3 separate regions of the Homo sapiens genome follow, and all the other regions are linked to region 3. The links are contacts of gene promoters, found by promoter capture Hi-C in blood cells and fetal thymus (Javierre and others, 2016). All regions are on one chromosome and are shown on one strand. Each heading gives the region's core, a stretch centred on a gene start or on the middle of the fragment in contact. The rest is flanking DNA. Distances are from core to core; before and after follow the strand shown. Region 1 has its middle 18 kb from the start of GIMAP7. Region 2 has its middle 18 kb from the start of GIMAP6. Region 3 holds the start of GIMAP4 (GTPase, IMAP family member 4).

Region 1 (4,249 bases), core at 1,068-3,567, 35 kb before region 3:
TAGCTTTGGGGTTGATTTCTTCTTGCTTCTCTAGTTCTTTCAGTTGTGATGTTAGGTTTTTAATTTGAGATCTAACTTTTTTTTTTTTGAGACAGAGTCTCACTCCGTCACCTAGGCTGGAGTGCAGCAGCATGATATTGGCTCACTGCAACCTCCGGCTCCTGGGTTCTAGTGATTCTCCTGCCTAAACTTTCTGAGCAGCTGGGACTACAGGTGTGTGCCACCATGCCTGGCTAATTTTTGTATTTTTAGTAGAGACAGTGTTTCACCGTGTTAGCCAGGATGGTCTTGATCTCCTGACCTTGTAATCTGCCCATCTTGGCCTCCCAAAGTGCTGAAATTACAGGCATGAGGCACAGTGCCCAGCTGAGATCTAACTTTTTAATGTGGGCATTTAGTGCTATAAATTTCCCCCTTAACATTGCCTTAGCTGTGCCCCAGAGATTCTGGTATTTTGTATCTTTGTTCCCATTATTTTCAAAAAACTTGTTGATTTCTGCCTTAATTTCATTATTTACCCAAAAGTCATCCAAGAGCATGTTGTTTAACTGCATGGATTTAAGCAATTTTCTTGGTCTTGACATCTATTCCTATTGTGCTGTGGTCCATGAGTGTGTTTGGTATGATTTAAGCTCCTTTGCATTTGTTGATTGTTTTATGTCCAATTACGTGGTTCATTTTAGAGTATGCGCCATGTGGTGATGAGAAGAGTGTATATATATTCTGTCGTCTTTGGGTGGAGACTTCTGTAAATGTCTATTAGATCCATTTGGTCCAATGTTGAGTTGAGGTCCTGAATATCTTTGTTAATTTTCTGCCTTGATGATCTGTCTAATACTGTTAGTGGAGTGTTGAATTCTCCTACTATTATTGTGTGAGAGTCTATATCTCTTTGTAGGTCTCTAAGAATTTTCTTTATGAATCTGGGTCCTCCTGTGCTGGGTGCATATATATTTCAGATAGTTAGGTATTCTTATTGAATTGAACCCTTTACCTTTATGTAATTCCCTTCTTTGTGTTTTTTGATCTTTGTTGGTTTGAAATCTGTTTTGTCTTAAAGCAAAAAAAAAAAAAAATACATATTTGGTTAGTTTGTACCTTGCTAAACTAATTGATGCTAGAGAGGCAAAATAAAAAAAACAAACCTGGACTCAAATAAAAATTTAGTTATTATAATTTAAATGAGATTATTTACATATGCAATTCTACAAAATATTTTTTCTTAGGTAGACCAGGCTTAACATTACTTAATAAAAACTCAGGTATAAAAGATTCCATATTTTTTCCTTATTTTTCATCTTCTTTTCTTCTAAATTGAGGTCAATAACATTTTCTTCTCACTAAAAAAAAAGAAATCTGTTTTGCCTGAAAATAGGATTGCAGCTCCTGCTTTTTTCTCTTTTCAATTTGCTTGGTAGATTTCCCTCTATCCCTTTATTTTGAGCCTATGAGTGTCATTACATGTGAGATGGGTCTCTTGAATCAGCATATCATTGGGTCTTGCTTCTTTATCCAGCTTGTCACTCTATGCCTTTTAAGTGGGGGCATTTAGTCCATTTACATTAAGGTTAGTATTGATATATGTGTATTTAATCCTGTCATTGTGCTGTTAGCTGGTTATTATGTTCGCTTGTTTTTATGGTTGCTTTATAGTGGTCTGTGTGTTTAAGTGTGTTTTTGTATTACCTGGTAGCAGTCTTTCTTTTCTATATTTAGTGCTCATCTCAAGATCTCTTGTAAGGCAGGAATGGTGGTAATGAGATCCCTCAACATTTGCTTATCTGAAAAGGATCTTATTTCTCCTTCACTTAGGAAGCTTAGTTTGGCTGGATATGCAATTCTTGGTTGAAGATTTTGTCTTTAAGGGTGTTGAATATTGGCACCAAATCTCTTCTGGCTTGGAGGGTTTCAGCTGAGAGACCCACTGTTAGCCTGAAGGGTTTCCCTTTGTAGGTGGCTTCCCTTTCTCTCTAGCTGCCTTTAACATTCTTTCATTTCAACCTTGGAAAATCTGACAGTTATGTGTATTGGGGATGATCCTCTTATGTAGATTCTTGCAGGAGTTCTCTGTATTTCCTGAATTTGACTGTTGGACTCTCTAGCAAGGTTGGGGAAGTTTTCATAAACAGTATCCTGAAATATATTTTCCAAGTTGTTTGCTTTCTCCCCTTCCCTTTCAAGCAATGCCAATCGGATTTGCCCTCTTTACATAATCTCATAATTCTCAGACACTTTATTCATTCATTTTTAGCCTTTTTTCTTTATTTTTTGTCTTATTTCAGAGAACCAGTATTCAAGTTCTGAGATTCTTTCCTCAGCTTGATTTCTTCTGCTTTTAATATTTATGATATTATTGTATTATGTTATTCAGCTCTGTCAGATGCATTAGGTTCTTTTTTATACTGGTTATTTTGTCCTTCAGCTCCTGTATTGCTTTATTGTGATTCTTATTTTCCTTGGATTGGGTTTTGCCATCCTTCTGAATCTCAAAGATTTTTGTTTCTATCCATATTTTGTCTTCTATTTCTGTCATTCCAGCCATTTCAGCCTGGTTAAGAACCCTTGTTGGAGAACTGGTGTGCCATTTGGAGGACATATGACAATCTGGCCACTTGAGTTACTGGAGTTCTTGCGTTGGTTCTTTCTCATCTCTGCATGTCGGTGTTCCTTTAACTGCAGTGTAGATTGAATACAATCAATAAACTTCTTTTTATGGATGTTTTCACAGGGCCAAGTCTTTGTGCAGGGTCTCTATTTGAAGCTGACTTCTTGTCTCTGGTTTCAGAGGAGGGTATGTTAGTGAGGTATTTTTGGTGTTGAAGCTTTGGGGTGTGATCCAGCAGGTGGCACTTATGTTTGTTGGTCAGTTCGTAGACTCTTGCTTGGTTGTGTGGCTCCCCTATGTTTCCTCATAGTTGCAGCCATGTTCCCTCTCAATGCTCTGAAAGTGTTGGTTTCTCTCTCTCTTGACTGCTGGCTGTAGATCATGGTTTGGTGCTCCTGGGCTGCCCACTGCAGCTCTGGGGTGATCTCAGTGTTTACATTCCTTCCTCAAATTGGAGTCAGTAAAGGAAGAACTTTAGTAGTGGTTGTGGACAATGGTCTTTTGCTTGTCTCCCAGGGGCCCCACCCCAGAAAGATGCAGGTCAGCAGTTGCTCAGTGCAATTAGCCCAAGATGGAGGGTCTGTGCTGGAGGGCCCAAGCCAGGGATTCCCTGTCTGGTGATGAGCAATGGGGGTGTGGGGGACCCATGGAAATTGGACTGGCTTCCTCTTCTTGGATGAAATGTAGCTTGTTGGAGGTGTGTATAAGGCACTTAGGGTCTTTGCTCCTATGTTAGTCCACGGGTGGCAAAGGCAGTTCCACTGCAGAGGCAGTGGCAGAGAGATTTTCAGTTGCCCTGGAAGGCTCTGTCCAGGGAGTTGCTGAGTTGCTATTGGCTTGATAGCTCTGGTGGTGGGTGTCTGGAGGCCAAGCCTGGAGGACCTGTCTGGTAAGGAGATATGGGAATGGCCACCCACATAACAGTCTGGCCAATTTTCCATAGGGCTTCTGCGGTATGCTAGGGGCCCACTCCAGTCCCTAGTTACCTCGGATTTTACCTGGAGGTAACACCAGAGAAGCCTGTCAAATAGCAAAGATGGCAAACTGCCCTTCCCTCTGGGAGCTTCATCCTGTTGCTAGCCTGTTGCTAGCTTGTTCAAGCCTGTTGCTAGCCTGAACACACCTGTAGGAGGTGGCTGGAGACCCCGATAGAAAGGTCCCACCCAGTAAGGAGAAATGTGATTGGGGACCCACTTTAAAAAGCAGTCTGGCCATGATTTCATAGAGCAGCTAAGCTGTGCTGGGGATCCACTTCAGCTCCTGGTTGCCTTGGACACTTCAAAGCCTGAACGCTGGAATAGCTAAGTTGCCCAGACAGCAAGGATGGTGGTCCACCCTTCATGCTGAGAGCTTCATCCCAGAGAATTAAAATCTCTGTTGGCTGGAGAACACTAATGGGGGTGGCTAGAGGCCCTGGTTGGGAGATCCTACTCAGGGAAGAGGAATGGGATTGGGCACCCACTTAAAGAAGCAGTTTAGCCACATTTTGTTAGAGCAGCTGTGCTGTTCTGGGTGGGTCCCTTCTGCCTGTGGTCAGCTAAGACTCTCCAAATTCTGAAGACTTGGTTGGGGGCTAAGTAGCTCAAACAGCAAAGATGAAAGATGGCAGCCTGCCCCTTCTCCTGGGAGCTCCATCACAGGGAA
Region 2 (3,794 bases), core at 944-3,443, 47 kb after region 3:
AGCTCATGTGTTGGGGTGATTGGACCCAACACCAGGTCATGGGGGTGACGAAGTCTGGCAGAGTCAAAGGAATGAGAAAAGACGTTTGAGAGAGAAAGTGGGCCCAGGGGTCCAACGTGAGTATGGAGGCTGCGAAGGTCCCAAGCTCTGGAAGCCCAGACTATTTATTGGTGATCAAACAAAGAAACAGGTGGTGAGAATGTGGGGTTGAAAGGGAGTATTGCATTAAGCACATGATTTACAGCTGTGATGGTTTAGCATATGCTCTGCTACTTGAGATAATGGAGAGAAGGTTCTTCTAACTCAAGATACAATCGATCCTGGGAGAGCAAGAAGCAAGGAGCCAGCATCTAGACACATTCCAGAGGCCATGAGGGGTTTTATGCCCTGAGCCCTGGATTCTATCCAAGCCATGAGGGGTTTTATCCCCTGGGCTTAGATTATGGTGCATCAGGGTAGCCTTCCACCCTTTAGCACAGAGCTTGGTGTTCCAAAGGCCAAGAGAGGTTTCAGACCCCGGACCCTGGACAGGTTCCAAGACTTTTTTACATTATGTCAGACATGCAAGCCCTGCCTCAGTTTTTCCCAACACTCAGCTTTTCCCAACATACCCCCCTTTTCTTTTTCATAAAACCACCACAGCTATCATTGCTTGTTCTTGATGGCAGCTTTCTCTTCAGAGGCGGTTTCCTCTTCAGAGGCAGCTTCTGCATCTGCAGACTAAAAGGAGACAGCACAAGCACACAACAACCAGAAAGAAACCCACAATGTAGAGCCTCCAATGGCCTTCAACTATAAATCTTTTGGAACGGGATAAGAGTTTTTTAAGGATCTCAGTTACAATATAAATACTTGGTGATGTTTCCCATAGTCTATTTAGAGACAGAGGGATCAAACTCCTTCCCTGGCTTTAATTATCAAGATAGTTATATTTTCATCAAAGGTTGAATTAATGCAGGTAAACAAGCAACAATCAGGGCATGTAATAAAGTGTGTATTATATCAAGAGTAACATTTCCTATTGCTAGCACGACTTTGAATCCAAAAGGTCCTGCTGGAGAGAAAAGAAAGAGCATTTTCATCCTTACCTCCTTCCCCTCTATTCCTTTTATATTTGCCCTCTCAGATTTTGATTGGACTTTGAGCCATAGCTAATTTCCATAATTCAGAATGTTCTTGTCTGTCCCTGCAAATCTCTGCTTGTCTTTGCTAGTCTCTACCTTTGTACCTCTTTAGGGCACTGACCAGTACCTCTTTAAGGCACTAACCTTATATTGCTAGTCTTTGCTTTTGTACCTCACTGACCAGTACCTCTTTAGGGCACTGACCAATACCTCTTTAGGGTACTGACCTTATATTGCTGGTCTTCATCTATCCGTATCTGTCCCTGTCTGTCCCTATGGTACCTGTTATTTCCTGTGAGTTCCTGCAAGTCCCTGTATTTTCCTACCTATCTCTACTTATCTCTATCTCTACTTACTTATCTCTATCTCTATTTACCTCTATCTCTATCTCTAGTTATGTCTATCTCTGTCTCTATTTATCTCTATCTCTATTTATGTATATCTCTATTTATGTCTATCTCTACTTACTTATCTCTACATCTTCCTGGAAACCTTTTTTATGACCCACATCAGCATCATCCTCAATTTCCTGGAACGAATTGTTGATCATGGCAATTAACATATTTAGCAAAACAATGACCATTGTAACATTACAGACTCCATAAAGAACATAACCAATGTTTTCAATGAATTTGTGGTTATAGTTGATGATCACTGATTTCACTTCAGAAAGTCCAAATATAGCCCAGAACATTGTCTTAAAACTCTCTTCAACGTTGTGAAGGCTTCATTTTGTTTTGCACCAATGTAGTAGGAGTAGAGGTTGAACATTCCAATCATAAAGGCCACAAACACCATAATGAATATGACCATGAACCTGAAGATGTCTTTGACTGCTCCTCCAAGTGACGTCTGCAGAGGTCCAAAGCTTTCATTTGCTGGCAAAATACAAGCTATCCCAGAGAAACTCAAAACCACAGCAACTGCACAAAGACCTTCAGACACCACCCAAGGATCAGAGGGGACCCACTCCCTCCTGGCCAAATTGTAGTATTTCACATTATCTCCCAGTGTTACTTCTGTCAAGTCCTTCAAAGTATCATTTGCATCAATGATGCTTTGGGCTTTGGAAGCATGCCAGAACGCCCTGAATCTTGCAATGAACAATGCTGTGAAAATCACTAACATACCAAAATCAAGCATATTCCACAACTCAAACAAATATTCCTTGGGGCCTTGAGTCCAAATTTCTTTACATTCAGTCCCATATCATGCCTCTGTGCTCATTAAATCTGTTTTTCTCCAGCAGAAGCAGGTTAACTGTGAAACTGAAGCTTCAAGATGACTTTACTTTCCCAGGCTCCTTCTAAGTCCTCACTTTGTCTTCTTTTTCTCTAAATGGGGCCTTCTGAATAAACAAGCCTCAGATTCCACTGGGTCTTACCCCATGTCTCACCCTCTTCATAATAAGTGCCTTAAGAAATTCAAGTAAGCAGAATGTTTGCTTTCACTTTGTCCCATTGTTACCCTGTTTCTTCCAAGTGCTCAGCTTTCCTGACGAGCTTCTTTCAGTGGTCCTCAGGTGTCCTTTGACGATGCATCCTCCACTTTCACATGCTCTAGCATTCCTTCACTGGGGTATTTGTCACCCCAAGTTGGGCAGCCAGGAATGTTGGGGTGATTGGACCCAACACCAGGTGGTGGGGGTGACAAAATCTGGTGGAGTCAAAGGAATGAGTAAAGACAGTTTGAGAGAGAAAGTGGGCCCAGGGCGCCAATGTGAGTAATGGAGGCTGTGAAGGCCCTGAGCTCTGGAAGCCCAGACTATTTATTGGTGATCAAACAAAGAAACAGGTGGTGAGAATGTGGGGTTGAAAGGGAACATTGCATTAAGCACATGATTTACAGCTATGACAGTTTAGCATATGCTCTGCTACTTGAGATAATGGAGAGAAGGTTCTTTTAACTCAAGATACAATCGATCCTGGCAGAGCAAGGAGCAAGGAGCCAGCAAGTCTAGACACATTCCAGAGGCCATGAGGGGTTTTATGTCCTGCGCTTACATTATGGTGCATCAGGGTAGGCTTCCACCCTTTAGCACAGAGCTTGGTGTTCCAAAGGCCAAGAGAGGTTTTAGACCCCGGACCCTGGACAGGTTCCAAGACTCTTTTACATTGTGTCAGACATGTAAGCCCTGCCTCAGCTTCTCCCAACACTCAGCTTTTCCCAACACCATGGAGGGTGAGCGTCACCTCACCTAGGACGTCCAAGCAGCCAGGGGCCTCCCTCCCACAGCCAAGGGAAGTTGTGAGGGACTGTGCTATTTGGCCCAGATAGAACTACACATTTCCCATGGTTTTTGCAATCCACAGACCAGGAGATTCCCTCGTGTGCCTACACCACCAGGGCCCTGGGTTTCCAGCACAAAACTGGGTGACTATTTGGGCAGACACAGAGCTAGCTGCAGGAGTGTTTTTTCACACCCCAGTGGCACCTGGAACCCCAGTGAGACAGAATGGTTCACTCCCCTTTAGAGAGGGCTGAAGCCAGGGAGCCAAGTGGTCTCGCTCAGCAGGTCCCAATCCCTTGGAGAACAGCAGGCTAAAAGCCACTGGCTTGAAATTCTCACTGCCAGCCCAGCAATCTGAAGTTGACCTGGGATGATGGAACTTGCTGGGGGGAGGGGCGTCCGCCATTACTGAGGCTTGAGTAGGCAGTTTTCCTCTGACA
Region 3 (4,027 bases), core at 1,189-3,688:
TTACTTGCCAATTAAAGGAGTTAATAAAAACCTGTCGAATCTGGTTTTTGTTCATTGGAACTATAAAAAGACCATTCAACCAAGTCCTCACTCTGAGCAATAACCCCTGTAGGTGAATGGAGCTTGTTGTATTTTTTCCTCAATCATTAGTGCTGGTTGTAAGCCACAGATTGTAATAGGGAATGAACATAAGGAGAATTTGGCCCACATTGTCCAATTGCTTGCCTTAAGTCTTTCAATATTTTAAAAGGGAATGGCTCCCAGTGTGACTGAGCATGTCCAGGCTGCTCCTCTGGTATGACAGTCACCAGAAACTGCCAAGCATCCAAGTCCCCACTTTCTCGTGCCTGATGAATGGAAGCCTGAATTGTCCCATATTTAACGTTGGGAGGAGCCTGAAGCATCTCTTTGGAATAATTAACAGGTGGACAAGTCTGAATTTTTAACCGTAATTAACTGGTGGCTGAGTCTGATTTTTACCATAGTTAACGGCAGGTTGTGCAATAACAGGTGCCGCAAACGGCATCTCAGGCTCCCATGCCTGCAGTTCACAAGGCTTAGGTGGGGGTGGCCATTCCGGAGCTTCCCCTGAGGGTGCAGTAGGTTGAACTGTCTCTTTCATATGTTTTTGGAGGTTAGCATACATAACCTCCTGATTCTCCCCCTTTTTTAACTGGAGCTAGATGTTGAGGTGATCAGGCCCAACCCCTTTAATGCCTGCATGATCTCGTTCCCATTCCTGATATTAATAACTTGTATACTGTATGTTTTGCCCCTTTTCTTGATTTATGTAGATAGAGGCTTATCAATTTTATTAATTATTTCCAAAGAATTCATGTTTGATTTTATTGGTTTTCTCTATTTTTTTTTTCTGTTTCAAGATTTCTTCCCTTTAGTATTTCCTTCATCCTCCTTACTTTAGGTTCAATTTGCTGTTCCTTTTCTAAATTTTTAATGTGGTATCACAAATTATTGTTTTCATTTCTGGATCTTTAATGTAGACATTTTTGTCTACACATTGCTTTATTGTTAAAGCATTAGATGAAACGTGGTGCTCACTGCAAATGTAGTCCCTAACAGAGAACTTTCCTACTGCAGTGATCCCTGTAACCTGAATAAAGATTCCCTAAGTAATGATCCAGTGCTTTAATAGTACTAAAAATAAATACTATATTTTGCATCAATTTCTGTAATTAAATAGAATAATATATACCTTCTAGCCAGGTTTAGGCTTCAGAAACAAAATATAATCCTAGTCTTTTAAGGTATCTCAGTTCAGAATCGCGGAGATGCTTTCTCATGCTGCCTGTTCTTTTGGACTTGCCTTCGTTTGCCTGTCAAACCAAGGGACCAAGTGGTCTTTGTTATTTAAGTCATGTTGCTCTGGAATGTAAATTATCCTTACTGTTGGTGCAAGATGTATTCCATTGCCTTGTTCTGCTTTTTAGTGTAGCCATCCTGTGCTTGTATACCCAGGGCCAATCACATTCTATCCTCAAAGAAATGTATGTCTTTCTCTTACAGTTCTCTTTAGAATTATTAGCAATTTTATAATTACTAAAGTGCTATGTAATTCTAAATAAGGTCTCAGCTGTGGGGTATAATGGTAAATTGAGACCCCTTTTACAATGGAAAAATAACTGGTTATAACGGTGAGCTGGGACCCCATTACAATACTCTCAAAGTTTCCATTTTAGTGGTAAGTAGTGTCAGATGTCAGTGTTTAGAATATTTCAGTGGTTCCAGGACCATCTCAGGAGGTGAATTTTGGGCCCATCCTAGTCAGTCCAGTGAAAGTCATTTACTCTCTTTTGCTTCTAGCAGATGACTCATGGACATACCCTGGAAATAAGGACACACTGTGGACTCAGAGGACATACCTGAGGTACTGGGAGAAAGGGGTATGGGGGCTTAGCTGGGAGGCCTGTTGTGCTGAGCAGGGGTTCAGGGGCTCAAGGGTCTTTCAGAATAACTGATAACTCTCTAGTTTTGGCCCAGAAGTTTCTTCCAGAATGTCACAGCATGACCCATGTTTTTTGTCTCACTGCAGAGCCTTTGCAAGGTTCAGTATGGTAGCCACCAGGCATACCAAGCTGAATATTCCTTCTTTCCTTCTGGGGAAAATGCCTGGTGCAAGTTGTTCTGCCTGACTTTGCCTTTTAGAATTCTGACAATGGAGTAGCTATTTAACTTTAAATAAATTGAAACAAAATAAAATTTAAAATTCAGAACTGCAATCACACTCGTCACATTTCAAGCGCTCAGTAGTCACGTGTGGCTAAGGGTCACCATCTTGGACAGCACAGAACAACCCCATCCCTGCAGAAAGTTCTATTAGAGCTGCTGGATGATCAGGTGGGCAGGTCCCTTGCACAAGTAAATCTGGACAGCTCCTCCCCTCACTTCCTCTCTTCTCCTGTTTCTCAACATCCTGGCTTAGTATTGTGTGCAAAATCAGAGAGGGGTGCAAGATCCTGATTTTTCAGGTAAGGGAATAGGGGTGTGTGTGGTGGGGGTCGGGACGAATGTGCGATTTTGGTGAGGAGGGACCTGTATCTTAAATCGTCTGGTAAACATGTTTTCAGACTATATTCTCGCTGGTTCCCGTTTCCTGGCTTTGCTAATTTTAGGCTGTGATCTGTTTTCAAGGCTGAGCCCTACAAATCAATGCCTCTTCCAGAGATTGCTGCTCAGAGGATACTTGTTTTACAAATAAATGTTTCCTCTCGCTGGTTGTGGAATTTATATAGAAACTTTGATTCTTCCAGGGATAAAGTTGGGTGAGCGGACAGAATTAGCTCTGGGGGAGCTGGTGGGAAGAGGAACATTGGGATGTGTAAGGGGCACAGCTCCATATGTGGCCCCACAAAGACTGCACCCAGGTCAGGATTGGAGGCTCTGCAGTCTGAGGTCTTGTTACAGGGTTAACTGTCTGCTCGGAGCTGCCCGTTAGGGAAACTGTCTCCTCAGGGACAGTCCTGGGTTTACTGGGCATTGAGCTCCCCTTTAGCGGGTAGGAGGAGGGAGATGCCACCTGGTGTGACTCTCTACAGTTCAGGAGAAGCTGGATGCTGATGGGTGCTTGTTCCTTAGGCAGAGAGAGGAGAATTCAGCCACCTGAAGTCAGCACCTACAGAAGCACAGTCTCCTGGCTTTGCCTCTGAATTATTAACAGCAGAGCAGCATTAAAGAGCCCACACACTAGAAGGAGGATATGAAGAAACACCCAGAGAATGTCACAAAAACCCAGAATGTCACAGTATTGTTTTCTTCTTGCTGGTGTCCTATCCTCTCTCCTAACACCAGCCACCAAAGCTGATTTTTAAAAAATGCCATGATTTCTCTTGTTTACAAGAAGCTGTTTCCTATACCCTATTCTTGAAGGATAAAGAAATAGTCATTCAAAAGAAATATCTGGCTTTTCACAGTGTTTCATATTTGTTGGCTTCCTATGAGGTGACTCTGTCTTTAACAACTACCATTTTCTGCCTGTTTTGTTCAAAGTCTGCTCCAATAAGAGTTCTTCAAATATCTTTCTCCATTGCAAAATGTTTGTAGGTAGCAATGAAATAAAACATTTAAAATTAATACCATGTTTCTATAACACTACATATTAATTAATAAAGGAATGGATTGTCATTTTCACAGATCAGATGTGGGCTGGACATAATGATCAATCAAAGGCAAGAAGCAGGGAGATTATCCATTTATTTATTTAACAATGATCGATAACCATTCTTTGCCCAGTATTGTGCTTGTCCCCAGGGAATAATGAGAAATACAAGACATATGTGGTCTTCTCATCACAAAGCTTGTAGTATAAGAGGAGACAGTAAAAAAATCAAGCAATTAACTTCCTAAAGTAATACATATTCTGTAAGAAGCCTCTGGGGTGCAGTGGATCATAACAGAGGGTGTTGCTGGTAGACAGTGGTGTTGGGGAAGACTCTCTGGAGAGCCGAGGCCTGCGGGTTGAGCAGGAACAAGCTGGGCACTAGGTTGGAGGGTGAGTGCTCCAAAGAGAAGG

Evidence for each region. The method cuts DNA at HindIII sites, captures the fragments that hold promoters and counts their contacts. A CHiCAGO score of 5 or more calls a contact.
Region 1: a fragment that was not itself captured here is called in contact with the fragment with the promoter of GIMAP4 in region 3 in 2 of 17 cell types (non-activated CD4 T cells and activated CD4 T cells); the score reaches 8.2 in non-activated CD4 T cells.
Region 2: a fragment that was not itself captured here is called in contact with the fragment with the promoter of GIMAP4 in region 3 in 2 of 17 cell types (non-activated CD4 T cells and activated CD4 T cells); the score reaches 8.7 in non-activated CD4 T cells.

The regions. Positions count from the first base shown.
Region 1 is chr7:150,530,326-150,534,574 of GRCh38, forward strand. No RefSeq gene overlaps it. Among named protein-coding and RNA genes, the nearest start is that of GIMAP7, 18 kb to the left of the region's middle. The HindIII fragment of the contact is 1,006 bases long and covers 1,815-2,820 here.
Region 2 is chr7:150,612,441-150,616,234 of GRCh38, forward strand. It overlaps the pseudogene TRPC6P3. Among named protein-coding and RNA genes, the nearest start is that of GIMAP6, 18 kb to the right of the region's middle. The HindIII fragment of the contact is 406 bases long and covers 1,991-2,396 here.
Region 3 is chr7:150,564,952-150,568,978 of GRCh38, forward strand. GIMAP4 (GTPase, IMAP family member 4) reads left to right here and starts at 2,439. Exons shown (of 3, transcript NM_018326.3): 1 at 2,439-2,486. The HindIII fragment of the contact is 6,433 bases long and covers 1-3,809 here.